Regions from separate parts of the Homo sapiens genome. Here region 1 is linked to region 2. Evidence: promoter capture Hi-C in 16 types of primary human blood cells and fetal thymus (Javierre and others, 2016). All regions are on one chromosome and are shown on one strand. The core of a region is centred on a gene start or on the middle of the fragment in contact, and the rest is flanking DNA. Distances in the headings are between cores, read along the strand shown.

The links. The method cuts DNA at HindIII sites, captures the fragments that hold promoters and counts their contacts. A CHiCAGO score of 5 or more calls a contact.
Region 1: a fragment that was not itself captured here is called in contact with the fragment with the promoter of USF1 in region 2 in 2 of 17 cell types (naive CD4 T cells and naive B cells); the score reaches 5.9 in naive CD4 T cells.

Annotation. Positions count from the first base shown.
Region 1 is chr1:160,683,758-160,689,580 of GRCh38, reverse strand. It overlaps CD48 (CD48 molecule), which reads left to right. Exons shown (of 4, transcript NM_001778.4): 2 at 4,392-4,694. It overlaps LOC124904439 (endogenous retrovirus group K member 18 Env polyprotein), which reads right to left. Exons shown (of 1, transcript XM_047438433.1): 1 at 1-5,823. Among named protein-coding and RNA genes, the nearest start is that of CD48, 25 kb to the left of the region's middle. The HindIII fragment of the contact is 715 bases long and covers 4,216-4,930 here.
Region 2 is chr1:161,043,020-161,048,265 of GRCh38, reverse strand. It overlaps USF1 (upstream transcription factor 1), which reads left to right and starts at 2,289. Exons shown (of 11, transcript NM_007122.5): 1 at 2,289-2,408; 2 at 4,906-4,998. The coding sequence starts at 4,991. ARHGAP30 (Rho GTPase activating protein 30) reads left to right here. Exons shown (of 12, transcript NM_001025598.2): 12 at 1-1,320. The coding sequence ends at 551. RefSeq lists enhancers at 1,439-2,319, 1,930-2,409, 1,522-2,721, 2,320-3,200, 3,260-3,489. The HindIII fragment of the contact is 1,293 bases long and covers 1,860-3,152 here.

The DNA.
Region 1 (5,823 bases), core at 3,324-5,823, 360 kb after region 2:
TTTTCTTTTTCTCCTTACAAACCTAAAAATCTCACCATTTCTATTAGCCTGAAAATAACATCCCTCTGTTCTTCTCTTCCTCCTTCAGCACTCAATCTCACTTACACTAGGTTTTATTTAATGATTCTCCTCCTTATACTTTCTGTCTCACCAGTTTCCTCTCACACTGATTTACCTGCTACACATAATTATTCTTATTAGGCTTATGTGCCTTTTCCTCCACTTATTCGACCTCTCACCTAGATAGATGCTCCTGCAGAAATCTACACTAATGATAGTGTGTAGATGCCTAGAGCCACAGATGACCGTTGCCCTGCTCAACCAGGAGAAGAAGGCACTGCATTTAATGTTACCATAGATTATAAATACCCCCCTCTGTGCCTCGGACATGCACCTGGTTGCATCCACCTAGAAACTCAATTCTAGGCTGCTTATCTTCCGAAAACATCAGCTACAGATAAAATAGGACATTTAGTCTCTGGCCTCTCCCTTTCTCCTTTAAAACAAATGAAAGGAGAAGTAATGGGAGATACCCCATACTTTCAATATAAACCTGCAGGAAAACCATGCCCTAAAAATTTTGAGGGCCCATCTAAAACTTTAATTTAGGATGATTGTGTTAACTCACATGCAGTAATATTAAAAAATGACTCATATGGTTTAGTAATAGACTGGGCACCAAAGGGCTATTTAAAAAATAATTGCTCCTCTAGTGGAAGGGAATTCCTGGAGGCTAATTATTTTATTTCTTATCAGGAGAACGAGAATCATCATTCTACTTTGCATAGGAGGATCAGCTCATTCTTTCCCTTAAAATGGGAAGATAAAGGCATTACCCGCCCCCCAAGCCTCGTATGATACTCCCCATTCTGAGCCCAGAACACCCAGAACTTTGGAAATTGGCTATTGCCATGTCTGGACTGCGAGTATGGGAAGGGAAAACTATTTTGACTGTTGTTCCCACTACTGTCCCACTCTCTCAGTATCAACATAGACCCAGACATTCTGCTTTACTTACCTCCAACCTGACTATTCCCATACAGAGTTGTGTTAAGCCTCCTTACATGCTGTTAGTAGGAAATATTAAAATTTGGACAAATAATCAAACTTTCCAATGCATTAATTGTCATCTATACACTTGTATTAACTCCCATTTTGACTCCAGGAAAAGTGTAATGTTGGTTCGAGTTTGAGAAGGAATCTGGATTCCAGTAACTTTACCTAGACCTTGCGAATCCTCCCCCCAATACATTTAATTAATGAAGTGCTACAGCAAATTCTAAAAAGATCTAAGAGATTTGTTTTCACTTTAATCGCTGTTATCACGGGCCTAATTACAGTCACTGCAATGGCCACCACTGATGGAATGGCATTACATCAATCTATTCAAACGGCTCATTTTGTTAATGATTGGCAAGCCAATTCCACCCAAATGTGGAATTCTCAACAAGGCATCCATCAAAAATTGGCAAGTCAAATTAATGATTTAAGACAGTCTGTTATTTGGCTTGGAGATCAGGTAGTGAGTCTCAAACATCACATGCAAATGCAGTGCGATTGGAATACTTCAGATTTCTGCATCACCCCGTATTCCTATAATGAGACTGATCATTCATAGGAAATGGTCAAAGGACACCTTCTAGGTAGAGAAGATAATTTATCATTGGACATAACTAAATTAAAGAAACAAATTTTTGAAGCCTCTCAAGCTCACTTATCCATCATGCCTGGAGCTGAGGCATTAGATCAGGTGGCAGAAAATCTTTATGGATTAAACCCCACTACTTGGATTAAGTCTACTGGGGGCTCCACTGTAGTAAATTTTGGAATATGTTTCTGTGTTTAATCAGCTTGTTTTTAGTGTCCCAGACCACTCAAAGAATCCTGTGTCAAAATCAAGAGAATGAACAAGCCTTCATTGCCATGGCACATTTATATAAAAAGAAAGGGAGAGATGTTGCAGGAAGTCAGGGACCCCAAATGGAGGGACCGGCTGAAGCCATGGCAGAAGAACGTGGATTGTGAATATTTTATGGACATTTATTAGTTCCCCAAATTAATACTTTCATAATTTCTTATGCCTGTCTTTACTGCAATCTCTAAACATAAATTGTAAAGATTTCATGGACACTTATCACTTCCCCAGTCAATACCCTTGTGATTTCCTATGCCTGTCTTTACTTTAATCTCTTAATCCTGTCAGCCAAGGAGGATGTATGTCACCTCAGGACCATGTGATAATTGCATTAACTGCACAAATTATAGAACACGTGTGTTTAAACAATATGAAATCTGGGCACCTTGAAAAAAGAACAAGATAACAGCAATGTTTAGGAAACTAGAGAGATAACCTTAAACTCTGACCACCGGTGAGCCAGGCAGAACAGAGCCATATTTCTCTTCTTTCAAAAGCAAATGGGAGAAATATCGCTGAGTTCTTTTTCTCAGCATGGAACATCCCTGAGAAAGAGAATACGCGCCTGGAGGTATAGGCTTATAAACAGCACCCCCAGGTGCTCCTGTCTCTTATGGTCGAAACTGCAGAGGTGAAATAGACTCCAGTCTCCCATAGCACTCCCAGGCTTATTAGGAAGAGAAAACTCCTGCCTAATAAATTTTGGTCAGACTGGTTGATCTCAAAACCCTGTCTCCTGATAAGATGTTATCAATGACAATGGTGCCCGAAACTTCATTAGCAATTTTAATTTCACCTCGGTCCTGTGGTCCTGTGATCTCGCCCTGCCTCCTCTTGCCTTATGGTATTCTAATACCCCGTTAAGTACTTGATGTCTGTCACCCACACCTATTTGCACACTCCCTCCCCTTTTGAAAATCTCTAATAAAAACTTGCTGGTTTTTGTAGCTTGTGGGGCATCACGGAACCTACCGACATGTGATGTCTCCCCCAGATGCTCAGCTTTAAAATTTCTCTCTTTTGTACTCTGTCCCTTTATTTCTCAAGCTGGCCAATGCTTAGGAAAAATAGAAAAGAACCTATGTGAATATCAGGGCAGATTCCCCGATAGCTGCTTAGTTCATTGATGTATCCCAAGTGTCTCAAATAGTGCCTGACAGATAGTTCTTAACAAATATTAGCTTTTAATCACCCTTTGGCTTACCCTAGTGGTCATCTCCTCCAAAGAGATTTTTCTTAGTATTTTCTCCATTTTCTATCCCTACCCTCCGGATAGGAATATATTCCCATAGCACACTGTGTTTATTGTCAGGAGTCAGGAAATGATGCCCTAAAATGATGGCCTCAGAAGCAGCCTCAGAAGTGAAAGTTTTTCTCTGACCTTCTCCTGCCCTCCTGTCTATCAGTCCCATTCTCCCCTAGGCTAGCCATAGACACTGGAATCCCTCTTTCCCAAGGTGGGCCATAGAAGCCAAAACCCCTTTTCCCCAAAGCCAGCCATAAAATTTAAATATACCACCCTAACTTTCCTTGAGCCTTTCTCTGTAAAAAAAAAATAGCTATAAAGAAATTATCTGACCTATCTTGTTTGATTGTGAATCATAAGACCCCCATTCTAGAGAGGGCCTGACCCACACACGGGAGGAAGGAAAGAATCTGGCACAGAAAGGCCAAGCAGAATCTAGAAAGATAGGCCTTGCTGGGTTTCCCGCAGTCAGTCTATTGGCATTCAATCATACCCTTTTTGTCCAATCATATTTCTCCATGACTGTCCATACTTTGTTGAACCTAAGCATAAAAATGGACAATTTGCCCTGTATCTTTGGCTCTTCATTAGGAAGGCTCTGCTTACACGTTAAATTGATCTGTATGCCTTTCCTCCTTAATCTGCCTCTTGTCAGTGATTTTTGGCAAACCTTCAGAAGGTGAAGGGGAAGCTTTCCCTTGGTCCCCACGTTACCTTTATTATAGTCATCAAGATAATATATTAGGATTATTTGTTTGTGTGTTTGTCCTCCCACATTGGTATATTAAATATTTTTAAACAGAATCATGTACTTTTTATGTCTATGCCTCTAGGGACTAACAACATGCTTACTGAAATGAGAATAGACAGGAAACACAAGACCAGAGCAGAGATATGACTTGTCATCAGTTTATTTGAAAGTCTACTGGTATGAGAGTAAGGGAGAGAGCCAGGCCCAACCTCAGTTGGCCTTACTCAATTCTTTCATTTTCTGGGGACAGTACTAGATTAATTATAAGCAGCATCCCCTTCCCCCATGCCCACTTTTCAAGCTTCAACTTTTCTTGAGTTCCTAAGCAGGAGACCTGGACCTCCAGTGAAAACCATACTCACTGCTCCTAAGCAGAAATCCCTTCCTTCTCACCTGTTCCACCAGCCCAGGCTATACCCTGGGCCTGTCAGCAACACTGCCTCCTCTAGCGCAGGTCTCACTCTGAATCTCATTGGCAGGTCACTTGGTACATATGACCGTGGTCTCCGGCAGCAACGTGACTCTGAACATCTCTGAGAGCCTGCCTGAGAACTACAAACAACTAACCTGGTTTTATACTTTCGACCAGAAGATTGTAGAATGGGATTCCAGAAAATCTAAGTACTTTGAATCCAAATTTAAAGGCAGGGTCAGACTTGATCCTCAGAGTGGCGCACTGTACATCTCTAAGGTCCAGAAAGAGGACAACAGCACCTACATCATGAGGGTGTTGAAAAAGACTGGGAATGAGCAAGAATGGAAGATCAAGCTGCAAGTGCTTGGTGAGTCAGGGGAGCCAAAGAGCAAATCCCCACTCCAGTGGCCCCAGATGGACCACTGTAGGGCTTCCTGGGAGGCATGGGGCACTCTCGGGGAGGAGGAGAGAAAAACCTCAGGACAGGTTTGATTCATTTTTCCTTGATCCAATTCTATTTGGGAGTGAGCCTAGGTCAACAGATATCCAAATTAACAATCTTAGGACATTTAACACCTCTTCTGAAGTTAGTGAGTCTAAGCTTTGAAGAGAAGGAAAACTAGAGATTTTTCCTATTTCCTTCATTTTGTCCTGTGATCAACCTAAATCAGCTCAGCTCATCTTGATTATATCTCCGAAATTAGGCTTCATTGGACTTAAGAAAAAAGAGAATGTATTAATATAAAGAATGGGGCAGGAGTTATCAGGAGAATTTTTCAACTTTCATAATGGGCAGGACAAAAAAACTTCCACTCATAGCTCCAGTCTAACCAGTGTATATGGAATAAGGACTCAGGCATTATACCTGGAGCCAGACAGACTTGGGTTCAAAACTGGTCAGTTGCTCACTAGCTGTGCAGCCTTGAAAAAAGATCTTCACATCTCTGTGCCCATATTAGGTAAGATTCTTTTGATAGCAAATAACAGAAACTAATTCAATGTACCTTTACCAAAAAAGGAGAATTTAGTTTAAGAAACTAGGGCTATTTAAAGCAATTCAAAGAGTTTAAAAGAGCTAGGAAGGGCTTAAGGGGAGAAGATTGAAAACCAGGTTCGGGCCAGAACCCCTAGCTTCAGGAATCTGTGGACTGTGCCTATGGATTTGGATTCCTGCCATTTTACACATGTTATCTCTCAAAACTTAGACTTTTGCTCCTCTGAGTTTCAATTCTCAGGGCAATTTAAAGAGAGAGAAACTGATAGTCCCAATTTAGTTCAGGTGTGTGTACCTGATCTAAACATTTTTGGTGAAAGGATCAGATTATAGGGCAGAAACATGGATATGGGGAGGGGCTCCAGGGGTTGGGGTATGCAATTCTTGTAGAAGAGCGGGGCTAAATAATCCAAGAGTGGTGTTCCCTTGAGAGCCTTGGGTTCTTCATCATATTATGAGAATAATTCTACTTACCTTTCAGGATGTTATTAGAGTCAAAGTA
Region 2 (5,246 bases), core at 1,040-3,539:
GCGTGGGCATGCGTCTAGCTTCCACTCTGGTTCAGGTCCAACAGGTCCGCTCTGTGCCTGTGGTGCCCCCCAAGCCACAGTTTGCCAAGATGCCCAGTGCAATGTGTAGCAAGATTCATGTGGCACCTGCAAATCCATGCCCGAGGCCTGGCCGGCTTGATGGGACTCCTGGAGAAAGGGCTTGGGGGTCCCGAGCTTCTCGATCCTCTTGGAGGAATGGGGGTAGTCTTTCCTTTGATGCTGCTGTGGCCCTAGCCCGGGACCGCCAAAGGACTGAGGCTCAAGGAGTTCGGCGAACCCAGACCTGTACTGAGGGTGGGGATTACTGCCTCATCCCCAGAACCTCCCCTTGTAGCATGATCTCTGCCCATTCTCCTCGGCCCCTTAGCTGCCTGGAGCTCCCATCTGAAGGTGCAGAAGGGTCTGGATCCCGGAGTCGTCTTAGTCTGCCCCCCAGAGAACCCCAGGTTCCTGACCCCCTGTTGTCCTCTCAGCGCAGGTCATATGCATTTGAAACACAGGCTAACCCTGGGAAAGGTGAAGGACTGTGATTAGGACCACAGCCCTGGGCAAAGGGGACCAGCAAGTTGTCTTGAATCTCCAGGGTTCCTGACTAGCTGTCTCCTCTGCAGCATGAGCAGCTGTAGTGCCCAACTCTATAGGCTTTGGCCCTCCAGCTTCTCTCTTTGACTGTGGGAGGCACTGCCTTGGTTGGTTTACCTGAACTTGTCTCCGACACAAAGCACTTATCTCTTAGGAGATTCCCAAGAAAGTCAACAAGATCTTGTTCCCAGGGAGTGGGTCATTGGCCAAAGGGAACATAAGGTAGGCAGAAAACTTAAAAGAGTTTGTTAAAGTGAAGACTGGAGAAATTCCTCCCTTCCTCTGAGCTGTGAATCTCTCTTCATGAAAGCCAAAGGTAGAGACAGGGAGGACAGGGCCAGGTTAGGGCCTTCCACACACAAACACTTCTAGAGTTGCCCATTCCTGTTATGTTCTTGGACCCTAAGATACCTCCTGTCCCTTTTAAATCCAGATTAAGAGAAACGTCCAGGAAGAGCTCTTTGAAGCCCTCAATATTTGTTGGAGGGACTGGACTCCTCTCCAGCTCCCCACCCTCTGCCTCCAGTCACCATGTGCAAGAGAGGTCCTGTACAGATCTCTCTGGGCTCTCCTTTCTCCTTTGGAATAACTTGTTCCTATTTCAGGAAAGGGAAATGGTGTCACTCAGGCCCTGGGACTGCTTCTCCAGCCAGGCTGGGGCCACAGGTCCCACTCTAGTGAAGGTCAATGTCTCAGAATAAAAGCTGTATTTTTACACATAGTGTGGAGTCTCATTATTCTTATTAAAGTCTTTGGTGATAGGTATTATATCTTCACATATTTGGCAAAACATTCTTTTTCTTCTTCTTGTTTGGGTGCTCTTCCTCAGTTGTTGTCATGGAGACTAGTGGCCAGAAACTAGAGCTAGGTTCATGGTGGTCAGGAAATAAGGAAGAGAAACTTATATTTACATAATGCGTTCATTATGTGCCAGGAACTGGACTAAGTATCCTGTGCTCACAAAATCTATGTCCTTGATTTTATTTAATCCACACAATTCTGGAAGGTTGGTGCTAGTATCTCCAGTTTATAGATGAGGAAACTAAGGCTCAATTAAGTCAAAATGTTTGCCAAAGGTCTCAGAGGTAAGAAGTGGCAGAGATGGGTTTGAAACCTGGATCTGCCTGGCCCCCAAGCTTGAATTTTTCCCATTATACCACACTACTCCAAATCCATTCAGGGTAGGTCTTGATTGAGAAGAATGGGAATCAAGATTCCTGTCACAGAAGGTGTGAGCCTTTAGAACACTAGAAGCTTTGGGGTCTTTGGATGAGTGACTGCTGACGCGAATAACAAGGAACATATCCAATTCTATGCATGCCCCGATAGGTCGTAATCTCTAGCAGGTAACCTTTCAAAAAGACGCCCTGCGCCAAGATGGCCTCCCAAATAGCCCTTGTTAAAGATGGCGCCTCCGTCGGACGTCCCTCCCTTGATCTCAGCTGGATTCTCTTCTTTCCTGGAATGAAAAAATGCCCTGCCAAGCACTAAGATATTAGTACAAGTTAGTCGTCTCTTTCCCGTTCTTGTCGAAAGTGGCCAGGCCTTCAGCTACATTCTCCAGGACACGGCTTCTTTCCGGCTTCACAAATAACCCACAAACACCAACTCTCATCAAGATGGAGTGAGCGGAAGTGGGGCAGTTCTGAGTTTGAGTTTATGGGCGGGGCGAGAGCGACACTTCCGCCCCTCACCAACATGGCCGCGGGCTGGAAGTGCGCATGAGCAGCTGTCTATGGAGATACCTAGGCCGGGAGAGGGAGAACACAGTTGGAGAAAATCGGCAGCTGAGACGGCCTTGGCCGGTGAGTGTAGGACCGGGCAGAAGTCTGGAAACTGGGTGGACTGGCAAGGCAGGGCAGCTTTGATTTTGTTTCCGTTTTTCAAGTTAGAGAACACTGCTGGGGAGGAAGCCTTTGTTTTGGGGGAGGGGGCTGTGCTGGTTCTTTATCTCATACCCTGCTTTGTGGGCCAAACTCTCTCCCTTCCCCAGAGCGCGAGCGTCCCAGCCCTCCTGCGCTGTCCAGCTGCGCGCCGCAGCCGCCGGCACCGGGCGCTTGAGCTCCCTAGTCCCCGAGGCCCTTTCCTGCCTCCTCCGCGGAGCAGCTGGGGCGCGGGGCTAAGACTGCGGGGCTGCGGGGTCACGGCGCAGGCTCCCGGGCTCGCGCCTGGCGGGCGCTCAGCTCCGTAAGCGCCTTCTGGTTGGTGAGCCTGCAGGGAGACGCCTCATTCTAAGGCAAGGTCTAGGTGCCTGACTTCTTTCGGGAGTTGATTTTTTTTCCCTTTGTGTCCAGACTTAGCAAGGGCTCTTACTGGGCCCTTCTGGCCTGAGCGTGCACACCACAACGTCCCATCCCTGTTTCCGTGTCACCGATCCCTAATGCCTAGGAAATGCTTCCGGATGTCCAACTAAGATTTGAATAAGTACCCTGACCCCGTTGCTGGGTGTCCTCAGAGACTGCCCCGGCTGACAGCTGTGGCCAATAGAGATGCCTCCTGTGCCGGGCCCTCTATTTCATTGCCTTCCCCTGCAGTCAGCGCGGCAAGCTTCGCAGGGCATTTCCTCTTCAGGTTTGAAGATGGAAATGTAGGTGGTCCCAAAACACTAGTGCTACTTCCCCTTATCGACTGGGATCTCCTTGCAGCGTTACTTCGTCTGTACGGTTTCACTTTCAGTTCCTTTTTCAACATTTTCCTCGGACGCGGTCTTTCCGAGGCTTATCCATTGAAAATTTTCCTTGGATAGGAAAGGTTTGGAGGACCTTATGGGTAGAGAATTTCCAAAAATCTTGCCCCTTTTGTGTTGGGATTATCTTATTGCTTTGTACTGTGTAGCTGTTTCTTTCTGGAGGCATGTCTGCCCAGCTCTTTGTTTTTCCTGCCCTCTGGCTGGGTGTCAGGGTCCTAAGGCAGAGCTTGTAGGTGGATTCTTCCCCCTTTGTCTCTTCTTCAGAACCCTGTTTTTTTTTTTTTTACCCCTTCTTGCTCAGGCTTAGTTGATTTGGAGTTGTCATAGCAACATTTTAGCAACAGTGTTGTTCTGCAGGAAGGCTTGATGAATAAAATAGAGAATGCTTGAAGAGGATCCACTTGGGCTTTAGGGTTTCTAACAGATTATATAAATCTGGATACCCCAAAACAAGAGTCCTGTCAGTAGAATGGGGCCCAAATGCCAAGTCTAGTCTTTGTGGTCAGGGATATTCTTCCAGTGGTAGTGGGCTTCAGATTTCCTCTTCCTAGGTTTGAAAACAGAAATGTCTTGATGGACAACATGTGGCTGAGAAACTGGAAGAAGCATCAGTGTCCATGACACTGTATTTTTTGATGGTGGGGCCAATACATGGCCCTTCCTGATTCCCATGAAGCTGCCATCATGGCAGGTCATAATAGCTTTAATGATCCATTTAGAGATGTGTTGTTGGCTGGGTGCGGTGGCTCATGCCTGTAATCCAAGCACTTTGGGAGGCCGAGGCAGGCGGATCACCTGAGGTCAGGAGTTCCAGACCAGCCTGGCCAATATGGTAAAACCCCATCTCTACTGAAAATACAAAAATTAGCTGGGCGTGGTGGTGGGCACCTATAATCCCAGCTATTCAGGAGGCTGAGGCAGGAGAATCACTTGAACCCAGGAGATGGAGGTTGTAAGCCGAGATTGTGCCACTGCACTCCAGCCTGGGTGACAGAGCAAGATTCTGTCTCAGAAAAAAAAAAAAAAAAAAGAAAGAAATGTGTTGTTTCGGCCAGGTGCAGTGGCTCACACCTGTAATCCCAGCACTTTGGGAGGCTGCCGAGGTGGACAGATCATGCTCTCAGGAGTTCGAGACCAGCCGGGCCAACATGGTGAAACCCCGTCTCTACTAAAAATACAAAAATTAGCCAGGCGTGGTGGTGTGCACCTGTAATCCCAGCTACTCCGGAGGCTGAGGCAGGAGAATCACTTGAACCTGGGAGGCAGAGGTTGCAGTGAGCTGAGATCGCGCCACTGCACTCCAGCCTGGGTGACAGAGAGAGACTCTGTCTCAAAAAAAAAAAAAAAAAAAAAGTGTTGTTTCTGTCTTCCAGTATAATTATCCACTCTCCACCAGGAGTTGGAGTGATAATGGAGGGATGGGGAACACTATTTGTAGCCTTGCTTTTTCAATCACTGTAGGCCAGTCCTCAACATCAGTATGGTGGAGGCTGATTGTCCCCTGCAGATGACTGGGTTATTTTCCTGGCTATGTGTTCATGGAACCTAAGTTCTAGAACCAGAGATACTGTTCTGTTTCCTAAACTCATTGCAAACTTCATGATTTCTACCAGGACTTAGCACTCAGGCCTGTGAATCAGGAGATACAAAGACCTCCAAAAAAGGACCAGTTCCTCGGATGTGCCCCCTCACAGAGAGATGAAGGGGTGAGTGAAGAAGAGGTAGGGTCTGGGATGAAAGATGGGTGGCCTGGAAGAATGCAAAATGACCAAGAGCACTGCCTCTGGAGTCAGGCAGACCTGGATTCAGGTTCTACTCTATCACTTACTGTGTGATTTGGTTTCTCTATCTATAAAATGGAAGTAGTGCTATCTATCTCGTGGTGCTGTTTTTAGTACTAAATAAGATTACATGTAATGTACTTAGCTTAGTGCTTATGTACATAGTAAACAGT